Regions from separate parts of the Homo sapiens genome. Here regions 1, 2 and 3 are each linked to region 4. The links are contacts of gene promoters, found by promoter capture Hi-C in blood cells and fetal thymus (Javierre and others, 2016). All regions are on one chromosome and are shown on one strand. The core of a region is centred on a gene start or on the middle of the fragment in contact, and the rest is flanking DNA. Distances in the headings are between cores, read along the strand shown.

Region 1 (2,783 bases), core at 133-2,632, 660 kb before region 4:
AGGGTGCTGAGGGCCTCAAACGCCTTTCACCAGAGGCCTGACTAGTGCGGCAGGTCAGGAAACAAGAAGAGACTTTAGAAGAGGGAGGCCTTGCCTTGTGTTCCTCAGAACCGGGACACTTGGTCCTCACCGGGGTGAGGCTGGGCAGAGTGCACCCTCCAGCCGCCTGTACCTCCACAGCCCTGCAGGCCGAGAGATGCAAGATAAACTGTGGATGGCACCCACTTTGGAGTCAGGAGGCCTGAGACTCTCCCCCAGCTGGTTCCTTCACGACCTTGGGGAAGTCACTTCCTTTCTGGGGGCTACAGTTTCTTCACTGAAGAATGAGGAGGTTAGATGGGAAGTCACTACTTCCAAAGATTTGTTTTTTTTTTAATGAAAGTAAAATCTTATTTTTTCAAAATATCACTAGGAAGACCCATGGATCACCCCAGGAGTGTTCCAGCTACAGCATGGGATGGGTCTCCCTCTCCCCAGCAACCTTGTCTGCTGGGCCCACCCCTTAGGTGTCCGGGGGCCCCCACTAGAACCTGCAGAAAACATTTGGAACCCACTGGACTTGCTTGCAGGTCCCGTAGAGTCCCACCCTCTAGGATTCTCTAAGGAATTCACAGGTACCCCCTCCGACCCCCAACCACACTCTCCACAGACACATGCACAGAAACGTAAGCACTGCCCACAGCTGTGTGCACACACAGGGACTTTCAGAGGCATGATTCAGAAGCCACACTGGGCAAAGTGCCCTCCTGCTGTTTGTGTTCACTCACGCAGCCCTTGGCCGCCTTCTTCCTGTCTTCTTTATTTGCTGCTGTCACTCCCACCTCCTGTGGAGTAGACCAGATGGCCGCATCTGCCCAAGGAAGTGTCTACAGAGGAAATGGCAAAGTGCATTCCAGCCAAGGTAGAAATCACTGGCAGGCAAGCTCTCAGGGCCAAGGCACTGGGGCTTTGGAGTCCTGGCCTGGGTCCCTACCCAAACCCTTGTCCCCTCAGATACATCCCTAGACCCCTTCCTGAGCAACCTGGAAAGAACCCGCAGACCCATTTTCTGCACATTCCTCAGCCCCACAGGGAGAGGAAAATGCTCCACCTCCTCCAGTTGCTGCCCAGGCTGCCGGCTACGAGGGGCTGTGGCTTCCACATTCCCTTCTCCAGTGCAGCCAGGCTTGACCTTTCAGAAAATCCTTGACGATGGGAAGGACTCCCAAGGATGGCATAGAATAGCCAGGCCCAGCCCCTGGACCTGCATAAAGCAATTGTTTGGAGGCAGAGAGTCGGATGCCTGGTGAATGGGGGGCTGGTACTCAATATAGTCAGAGAAGGCAGTGTCCTTACTCAGCTGCTCTCAGAGCGAAGGCACTTGCCCTCTGCAGGCTGCCCCAGAAGCCAAAGGAAAGCAACTGGAAGCTAAAGGGAAGGTTTGGGGACTTTAATAGCTGATATAGTTTGGATATTTGTCCCTGCCCAAATCTCATGTTGAATGAAATGTAATCTGCAGTGTTAGAAGTGCCTGGTGGGAGGTGTTTGGGCCATGGGGGCAGATCTCTCATGAATGGCTTGGGCCATCCTCCTGGTGATGAGTGAGCTCTTGCTCTGAGTTCACATGAGATCTGGTCATTTAAAAGTGTGTGGCACCTTCTACCTCACCAACCCCCCACCTCTCCCTCTTTCTCTCTCTGTCTCATGCTGAAGGAGACATGGAACAGTGAGATTCTCCCTTGGAGCCTCCAGAAGGAACCTGCCCTGTGGACACCTTGATTTTAGCCCTGTAGGTTCATTTCAGACTCTGGACTTCCAGAACGCTAAGAGAGTAAGTCTGTGTTGTTCAAGCCACTTTTTGTGGTGGTTTATTATGCAGCAATGGAGAACAAATACACCCGGCATGTCCTGGGACAAAGCCTGGGGACGGCGGGGGGACTGAGCTGGACGCCCATACCCCAAAGCACGAAGGGAAGAGACCAGCAGCTAACACTCGAAGAGGCCGACTAGTTCTCAAAAGGGAGAAGAGGTATGGCCTGAAAGCCAAGGAGCAAGGGAGATGCTAACTCTAACCGCATTATTTTTTTGGAGACAGGGTCTCCCTTGGTCACCCAGGCTGGAGTGCAGTGGTGCAATCATGGCTCACTGCAGCCTCGACCTCCTGGGCTCAAGCGATCCTCCTGCTTCAGCCTCCAGAGCAGCTGGGACCACAGGTGTGCACCACCACGCCCTGCCCCCTAACCCCATTTTCTGTCCCTGGGGTACATGGGGTGTGAGATAATAAACAGTCCCCACTGGAGAGAGATTATTTAATCCTCATCCTACTCCACAAGACCATTATCGTTACGATCTTCCTTCTATAGATCAGGAACCTGAAGTACTTGGGGGTGGAGGTCACTTGCTCAAGTTCAGGCAGTTAGGAAGGGCAAAGCAGAGGTTTGAACCGTGCCTGCACCTGTGAAGTTTGGAAACCATCATCGCATTCCCCCAGGGGAATAGTCTAGGATCTGAGTTCCAGCTTCTCCATCTGAGGCAGCGGTCCCCAGGCGCTGGCAGCAACGTGCAGCTGCTGGGGTACGAGGCAGCTGCCTGCAGAGACCGTGCCTTCCCCTTGGTGCAGATGCAGTGGGCAGCCTGCACTTTGCTGCTCCTGTGTCCGACTCCTTGGGGTTCTGTTCTGGAGACAGAGCTCAGTGGACTCACAAGACGGTCACTTTCTTCTGTTGAGTCCCTGAGTTTATTTGATGAAATCCAGAACTGAAGTTCCTGGAATAAGTCATCTTACCACCAGTGTTTTGAATTAA
Region 2 (2,860 bases), core at 222-2,721, 680 kb before region 4:
CCTTGGGCCAGGCTTTGCTGTGAGGATACCAAGAGGAATCACGCTGAGACCAGTCCCCCTGGGAGCCCACACCCTGGTTCAGTGACTTGGAAACCTTTTGAACACATGCCTCATTTTGATAAACAAAGAGCTGCCGCCTTTAATGTTTAACCGAGGTCACTTTCAAGTTTACAGGGTTGTGTTTTTTTTCCTGTTTTAAGCTTCACAAAAATATCTTTAAATCACTGATAATGCCACCCTTTTCTCCAAGTTTGGGGTGCACTTCCCTACCTCCCCCTGTCCTTGAGATCTGGTTGGAGGGATAAGACATATCTAGACGAAGGTAACTGAAAATCCTAGCTGAAACTGAAACTGAAAATCCTAACTGAAACTCATCACCATCTGTCTAGTGTCTTGTGTGGCTGGCTGGCATGGTGCTAGGTGCTGGGGTTGAAAGAAGGCAGCTCTGTCCTTAGGGTGCTGGGAGTCGGGGGACAGAGGTGGCATGACTGACCCTCGTGCAGTATGATCAGTGAGAGCCACATGGTTGTGTCACACGGTGTTTAAGCCCGGGGTGGAAAGGTCAGGGAAGGCTTCTAGGAGAAGGTGCCCTTGGGAAGGGACTGGAAGGAGTGTAGGCCGTGCTTAAAAGGCAGTGGAGGAAGAGGAACACCAATTCCCAGCAGGGGAACTTGAGCTTGAACAAAACGGGGCGAAAGGTGGAGGTTGTGGGAGGTGAGTGTCCCTGCCAGGCTGGGGGTTGGCTAACCCTCGTGTTCCCCGACCCCTCTCTCTCCACCCCCCACCCCCGCCCCCGCTTCTGTCTCCCTAGGGACTGGTGATTGCAGCTGGAAGTGCCCATGACCGAGCTGGCGTCCTCCGGGGGCGGGTCCCCTGCGGGGGACGGGGAGGAGGGTCTGGGGGACGAGCGAGGCCTGGTCATCCACCACCCTGCAGAGGAGCAGCCCTACCGCTGCCCGCTGTGCGGCCAGACCTTCTCGCAGCAGCCCAGCCTGGTGCGGCACCAGAAGGCGCACGCCGGAGCGGGCCGCGCGGCTGCCTTCGTGTGTCCCGAGTGCGGCAAGGCCTTCAGCGTCAAGCACAACCTCGAGGTGCACCAGCGCACGCACACCGGGGAGCGGCCCTTCCCCTGCCCCGAGTGCGGCCGCTGCTTCAGCCTCAAGCAGAACCTGCTCACGCACCAGCGCATCCACAGCGGCGAGAAGCCGCACCAGTGCGCGCAGTGCGGCCGCTGCTTCCGCGAGCCGCGCTTCCTGCTCAACCACCAGCGCACCCACGCGCGCATGCCCGCGCCGCACCCGCGCCGCCCCGGCGTCTTCGGGGAGCGGCGGCCCTACTTCTGCCCCCGCTGCGGCAAGAGCTTCGCGCGCGAGGGCTCGCTCAAGACCCATCAGCGCAGCCACGGCCACGGGCCCGAGGGCCAGGCGGCCCACTTAGGACGCGTGCTATGATGCGCCCGGGGCCTGCTGCCGACGGCTGCTTCCCGCCCCGCACGTGCGTCCCCGACCCCTGGAGATGGCCCTGGGCCGCAGCTCCCTCTCTAGATGGGATCCCGGGAGAGGGGCAGCGCTGGCTTGGGCTCTTGAAGGTGTGGGCCGCCGCCAGGCTCCGGCCGCCCGCTCGCGTTCCTCCCTCGGGACCCTCTGGCTGGCTGCGCACAGCTGCTTCCGGCTCCTGCCATGGTTCTCCTTCTCTGGCCCATCCGGCCTAGAGCAGGTGAGACCTGCGGGGCTGGCCAGAGCCCCTCTCAGGGCTGGGAGTGGTGGGGGTGGAGTGCGTGGTGTTGATTCTTGATGGCAGGTGGGGCGGTCTGGGTACCGGGCTGTAGGTTTCTCTGTGATGAGCTGCTTACCGGATCTTCATCCCCAGAATGTCAGAGTTGAAAGAGACTTGGAGAGGCCACTTTCCACAAACCCCACGCCCAACCTCAGCCCCTAGGCCTCCTGGCTCCTGTACACACTCTCTGCTGTCCTTGAGATGTCATTTCACTTCATGTTTCAGTTTACTCATCTGTAAGTTGGGGATATAGATGAGGGACTCTTCCTCGCTGGGATATATTGCAGCTACTGGATGAGAGAGGGTGAGGTCACTGGTGCACAGAGCCTTAGTTGATTCTGCCACACCATGTGCCACTGACTGTGCCGGGCTGGGCTCTCCCAGAGACACACATGAGGACCGCAGGCCCTGACACGGGGTGCTCACACTCGGTGTGTGACGCGGGGCCAACCTACAAAGTGCTCTGGGGTGAGACCGAGGAGGGTGACTGGTTTCTCTTCGTCACCCAGGGGAGTTTGATGGCTTTGAACCAGGTCATGGGGACAAATAAAATTGTTCTAGGAAGAGCAAGTGTGTAGAAGGGTGTTTTCAAGGGAGGGGGGGTCCTGATAGTTCAGTGACTGTCTCCAGGTGTCCCAAGGGGAGGTTTGCCCTACAAAGGACTTCGTGGTCAGGGGGTGGGGACACTGAGATTTTTAATGAGATGAGTGCTATGATCTCAGACTTATGCTTTAGGAGGAGAATCAGAGGCACTGTGAGGACAGACTGATGTGGGAAGAGCTGGAGCCTCGAGGGGCTTGGGTCATCTGGGCAAGAGAACATAAGGCCCCCAGCTAAGAGGCCTGGCCAAGGTCTGGCAGTGAGAAAGGGGGCAGCCAGGACTCTGCTCCAGGACCTCTGGTTCCAAGCTGGCGCTCTGAGGCACGGGCCTCTTCAGCCTTTTGGCAGATGAGGAAACAGGTTTGCCAAGCTTGCCTACACCACAGTTGGTACTTAGGGGTACAACAGGTGGAAGCCAGGGCTTTGTTTTGGATTCTGAATCCCAGAACCTTTTAGCTTCACTGCTTAAAAAGTGGACGATGGA
Region 3 (2,700 bases), core at 12-2,511, 760 kb before region 4:
AGCATTCCCGGTTCCTGCTTCTCCCCCACTTCCTGCTGTACCGCCCACTGAAGGGACCTTTGACCCCGCTGACCACTGCTTTTGGAAAGTCTTTTCTTGGTTTCCCTAACTTCACTTTACTTTGGTTTTTCCTTGTCTCTCCCCTCTGCCTCTCAGTCACCTTTGAGATCTGCTCATCCTCTCACCTCCCTGTATTGTCAGCATTACCTGGGCAGCCCCCTCTGGTGTTTTCCTTCAGTTTCTCTAGAAACTTGCCTGAAGATTTGCCCCAAAATAGCCCACATGGACCTGTATGAGGAAAGAGGCTCACTGTGGAGGCGCTCTCCATCATTCCTCCTCTTCCACTTGAGGCTTAGGCATGGGCCACCTCCTGAACAGCTCTCCCCACAGTCTCCTCCATGCATTGTGCCATCACCCCGCCCTGCCGTCACCCCGGCCTGGCCCGCTTTCCCTTTTGCCTCCCAGGGATGTGCCTGCTTCCCATGTGGCCTGGCTAGGGCGCTTTCCTGACTGCTGCCCACATGATCGACTATGGGCAGGCGTGCAGCCCAAAAGGCCGTGCTTCAGCTTAGAAGCCCTTGGAATCTTGTCTTGTTGTGGTTGTAGGCCTCCAATGTGTTGTCAGCTGTGGTGATGTGTGTCACAAGTAACTTCTTTTTTTTGAGACAGGGTCTGGCTCTGTTGCTCAGGCTGGAATGCAGTGGTGCAATCACGGCTCACTGCAATCTCCACTTCCCTGCTCAAGCCATCTTCCTGCCTCAGACTGCCAAGAAGCTGGGACCACAGGCACAGGCCATCACAGCTGGCTGATTTTTTTGTATTTTTTTTGTAAAGACAAGGTTTCGCCATCTTGCCCAAGCTGGTCTCAACCCCCTGAGTTCAAAGCAGTCCACCCACCTTGGCTTCCCAAAGTGCTAGGATTACAGGCGTGAGCCACCACACCTGGCCACAAGTAACTTCTTAGTTATAAAGTACTGAAATTTATCAATGACTTTCTTTTTAAAATTTACGTTTTAGATTCATTTGGATTCAAGGTTGGCTCTCAACAGTGCCAGCTGCACTGTCATCCTAAAGTACTTCTGTGGAAGAGAACATGGTGGTGTCACTGTTGTACCAGTGATGACACAAAATCCCAGATCTACCTGACGGGCCTGCGAGGGTTGAAGATTGTGAAGCAATAGCCTAAGGTAAACAACACCTTGCAAGACGGGTCTAAGCTCTTCAGTGTAATAGACCCTGTTTCTCAGTAGGTCAGCCCGGGGGCCCCCCAGGGATCCCTCCCCGCCTCATAGCACCATACCCCACTTTCCCCCTGGTCTAATGATGAGCCCATTTCTAGGTTGTCGTCTCATCCTGAGCCCCAAGTGCCAGCCAGGCAGCTACTCTCCTCTGTTCATATCTTGAAGGCAGAGTGCTGGCTCATAGTAGACATTTGATGAATTTCTGTTAAATGATTGAGTGAATCAAGAGTATCTGCAGAGTATAGCATTTATGATGAGACAAAGCTAATTGGGAAACAGAACAAGATTGGTGTCCTGGGGTAACTGGGTAGGTCTTAAGATGAAGATTTTGGGGTGTGCTGGGTGCAGTGGCTCACACCTGTAATCCCAATACTTTGGGAGGCTGAGGCAGGGGGATTGCTTGATCCCAGGAGTTCAAGACCAGCTTGGGCAACATGGTGAAATCCCGTCTCTACAGAAAACACAAAAATTAGCTGGGTGTGGTGGTGCACATCTGAAGTCCCAGCTACTTGGGAGGCTGAGTTTGGGAGGATTACTTGAGCCCAGGAGGCAGAGGTTGCAACAAGGTAGATCATGCCACTGTACTCCAGCCTGGGTGACAGAGCAAGACCCAGTCTGAAAAAAAAAAAAAAAAAATACTTTGGAGGGTGACCCCGTTCTGCAGATGGCCTCTGGAGGCCTGGATGTTCACACTCTGGGGTTGCAGTTTCCTCAATCATGAAGTGAGAGTTAAGTCCCCTCCAGTGTGACATCCAAGAGCAGTTGTGGGCCCAGGACAGCAGCCTGTGTTTCCTTTGCAGCTTTACCTAGCCCCTACACAAGCGCCACCTTGCAGTAGGCCTTCAGTTCTTGGATTTATTGGTGGCTGAAAGTTCTTGCGAGATGGACTTGAAGTTGTTGCCACTTAACCCTTCTGAGGTTCTTCTGGCTGGGAGGAGCTCCTCTTTCTGGCCAGAGTCTTGCTTGAGCCTTCTTAGCCATCTCGTCACCTGTTATAGGCAGCCCTGCCATCTCTGGTGACCCTTTTTAAACATTACCCTGGTGAGTAATGTTTAGCATCACTCATTGTCAGATCTTTTTTATCTTTTTTTTTTTTTGAGTTTCAGTACCAGTAAGTCTTTATGTATTCATTATATCTTTCCAGGGAAAGGAGAAGGGAAGTGAAAAGGGTCAGCATGTGTGTTGCAAAGTGATTAGAAAATGGGAAAGGAAGTACCTGGTACAGAAAAATCAGCCATCCAATAGATGCACCCCAGAGATGGAGTAACCAAAGCCCAAGGGGCCCTGGTCTCCTGCAGTTCAGGACTGAGGGGCAGGGATCAGGGAAGGTACAAGCCTTTCTACCCTCCCTCCCTGCCCCTAAATTCAAGATTTCACATAAAGCTTTGGTTTCTAGCAGTAAACATGGGGTTACATTCATCTGTCTCCTTTTAAACAATCTTGTAGCCACTTTGACATA
Region 4 (2,700 bases), core at 156-2,655:
TCTTGGGAGGTATACCTGGTGCTACTTCCTGCTGTCAATTCTAATTAAGCACCTAAAAGAGATGTTGGATGTTACTTTTAGAATTATACAACATCAGAACTAGGTTTTATGTTCAACCACTATATTTCGCAGATGAAACCCAGAGAGGGCACAAGATATCCTTAAGCTTATGCAGGGAGATAGAAACACAGGTTCCTCAGGAGCTTAGGAGACCCTGTGTGTTGATTAGCTTGCACCAGGTGCTTTGGAAGGTACAAGGAACTCGGGAATAGTGACTGGGTTGGTTCTGGGGCTGAGTTGTGTGGGTAATCAAACAGTGGACAGCTTCATGCTGGGAAAAGATCCAGCTTGGCCAGGGAAGTGGAAGTGTGCGTAAGAAGGACGATGTGTGTCACTGATGCCCTAGGATATCTGGGGGTAGCAGATACCCTGCAACATCTCTGGCAGATTTATTGGCTGCGGCCTCTGCAAATGTCACCTCTTGTAGGTTTTAGGAAACGTGTGTGTGTTGGTGGGGGGGAGGGGGCTAACAGAACTGCAGCCCACTTTGGCAATGGGACTGCAGAGGAACTGGGACATTTCAGGGAGCTCCCTGGCCCTAGAGGGAGTGAAAGGACAGGATGGACAAGGGGTGAGGACAAGAAAAATTGAGAGCCACGTGGGCTTTGGTTGGTCTCTCCAATGGGATGAGTAGGGGAGAAAGGCATATACTATTTCATCCCTCCCTCTTCTTCCTCTATGTACCAATGGGGTCGGGTAGCATTTAGCTAATCTCCCAAGTCCGGCAGGGGGAGGGTCTTTTAGGAGAGCACTGCTGCAGCCGGCAGTGGAGAGCCTGGGCAGGGAGACAGGGAGAAAACTCCGGCAGCAGGGTGGTCTCTAGGGCTGACCTCGGAGCCTGGGGACAGGGGAGCCTATGCCGCACTGAAGGCGGGACGCTGTAAGCGAGGAGCAGCTGGGCCTGGGCGGACTCCTCGGCCAATCAGCCTCGGTCAGCAGCACCCTCAGGCGCAGGGCACTGTTTGGGCATTGCCTAGAGATCCGACACCCCGCCCAGATCAGCGCAGGGAGGCGAAAGCGACAGCCGGGCGCGGGAGGAGACCAGGGCAGCTGTCCCCTCCGCGAGGGTGGCCCTCGAGGCAATGCGGGTGGGGGCTGGTGAGGAGGCGGAAGGGCCGAGGCTGAGTGGGAGGGGCCGGGGCGCCAGGGCTGGAGCGCGCGGCTCGGGGGTGGAGGCTGCAGAGCCAGCGAGCGAGCGAGGGGCGGGGGCGCCCGGGCCGGCGCGCAGGAGGGGCGGGGGCGGCGGGGAGGGGGGCTCGGGCTGCGTGTGCCGGAGCCGGCGGGGGCGGCGGTGCGTGCGCATGACGCGGGGGGAGGGCCTGGGCCGCGCGCTCCCGGTCCCGTTGTTGTTGCCGCTGGAGGCTGCTCCGAGGCAGCGGGATCACGGCGCTGGGAAGCGCTCGGCAGCGGCGGCCACAGCGTGCGCGGCGGCGCCTCCTGGCCTCGGCCTCCGGCCCCCGGCCCCCGGCTCCATGCGCTAGCCCCGCGCCGCCAGCCCAGTAGTCCCGGCCCCGCCAGCCCCGCGCTCCCGCTCGCCGCTGCCGCCGCCGCCGCCGCCGCCGCCTCCGCCGCGCCGCCCCGGGCCCGCCTCGGGCCCCACGGCTCCGAAGCCATGAACTTCCAGGCGGGCGGGGGGCAGAGCCCGCAGCAGCAGCAGAGCCTGGCGGCTCCGGGGGGCGGCGGCGCTGCCGCGCAGCAGCTCGTCTGCGGCGGGCAGTTCGGCGGCGCGGGGCCCGGGGCCGGGGGCGGCGGCGGCCCCTCGCAGCAGCTGGCCGGCGGGCCCCCCCAGCAGTTCGCGCTCTCCAACTCCGCGGCCATCCGGGCCGAGATCCAGCGCTTCGAGTCCGTGCATCCCAATATCTACGCCATCTACGACCTGATCGAGCGCATCGAGGATTTGGCGCTGCAGAACCAGATCCGGGAGCACGTCATCTCCATCGAGGGTGAGCGGAGCCGGGGGCTGCGGGAGCCGGGGCGCAGTGGCCTCTCCGGCGCCGGCCGAGGGCTCCACAGGCCGTGCCTGGCCATGCTCTCCCTGTCGGGGGTCCTTGCGCGCTTGAGGACCAGGCCACGAGGTTTGCCGATCTGTGTTGCAGAACCGGCGGGCAGCTTCGCCATATCTCGTTCGGGGACACTTTGGGGTTGGGGGTTTTCTGCTGACTGTGTTCCAGGGCGCGAAGGTGGTGTCGCTTGGGGGGGCCGGGACCAGATCTGTCCAGGCCTGGCCGGGGAAGGTGGGCGCGGCAGAGGGCTTCAGCTGCGGGGAGGTGGGGTCGTGACCGGGGAGGCTTCTTAGCCGCTGCCCGGGCCCTGCTCCGCAGTGGGGCGGGGGATCGGAGCCTCGCGTTAGTGGATGGCAGCCTTCCCGGGCCCAGCGCCCGCAGGCCCGGAGGGTGGCGCTCGCCGCGGCGCCCTCTCCCGACGCACACCCCCTACGCCGCGGCGGCCAAGCGGGAGCGGGCCGGGCCTGGCGCTGGGCTGAGGCTCAGCGACCGCGTGGGAGGCGCCGGCAGGTCCATCCGCGCTTTGGCCGGGTCATGAGCCTGACGGGGATCCGCGGCTCCTCGGTCTGGAGGCAGCTGCTGGGCAGCCGGGTGCTGACCGACCGCCAGGGACACCGCACCCGGAGTCGGGGACCGG

Evidence for each region. The method cuts DNA at HindIII sites, captures the fragments that hold promoters and counts their contacts. A CHiCAGO score of 5 or more calls a contact.
Region 1: a fragment that was not itself captured here is called in contact with the fragment with the promoter of AGAP3 in region 4 in 2 of 17 cell types (naive B cells and total B cells); the score reaches 5.1 in naive B cells.
Region 2: a fragment that was not itself captured here is called in contact with the fragment with the promoter of AGAP3 in region 4 in 4 of 17 cell types (naive CD4 T cells, erythroblasts, naive B cells and 1 more); the score reaches 7.1 in naive CD4 T cells.
Region 3: a contact is called between a fragment that was not itself captured here and the fragment with the promoter of AGAP3 in region 4, in 2 of 17 cell types (fetal thymus and non-activated CD4 T cells). The highest score is 6.2, in fetal thymus.

The regions. Positions count from the first base shown.
Region 1 is chr7:150,428,115-150,430,897 of GRCh38, forward strand. No RefSeq gene overlaps it. Among named protein-coding and RNA genes, the nearest start is that of LINC00996, 4.1 kb to the right of the region's middle. RefSeq lists an enhancer at 712-881. The HindIII fragment of the contact is 4,508 bases long and covers 1-2,783 here.
Region 2 is chr7:150,406,773-150,409,632 of GRCh38, forward strand. LOC728743 (zinc finger domain-containing protein LOC728743) reads left to right here. Exons shown (of 3, transcript NM_001395976.1): 2 at 812-1,716. The coding sequence starts at 840. The coding sequence ends at 1,451. Among named protein-coding and RNA genes, the nearest start is that of ZNF775-AS1, 24 kb to the left of the region's middle. RefSeq lists an enhancer at 177-226. The HindIII fragment of the contact is 2,546 bases long and covers 199-2,744 here.
Region 3 is chr7:150,324,824-150,327,523 of GRCh38, forward strand. It overlaps LRRC61 (leucine rich repeat containing 61), which reads left to right. Exons shown (of 3, transcript NM_001142928.2): 2 at 1,018-1,187. Among named protein-coding and RNA genes, the nearest start is that of ACTR3C, 2.6 kb to the left of the region's middle. The HindIII fragment of the contact is 2,722 bases long and covers 1-2,622 here.
Region 4 is chr7:151,085,070-151,087,769 of GRCh38, forward strand. AGAP3 (ArfGAP with GTPase domain, ankyrin repeat and PH domain 3) reads left to right here and starts at 1,406. Exons shown (of 18, transcript NM_031946.7): 1 at 1,406-2,003. The coding sequence starts at 1,673. RefSeq lists silencers at 1,126-1,375, 1,426-1,515, 1,882-1,951, 2,312-2,581. The HindIII fragment of the contact is 3,352 bases long and covers 165-2,700 here.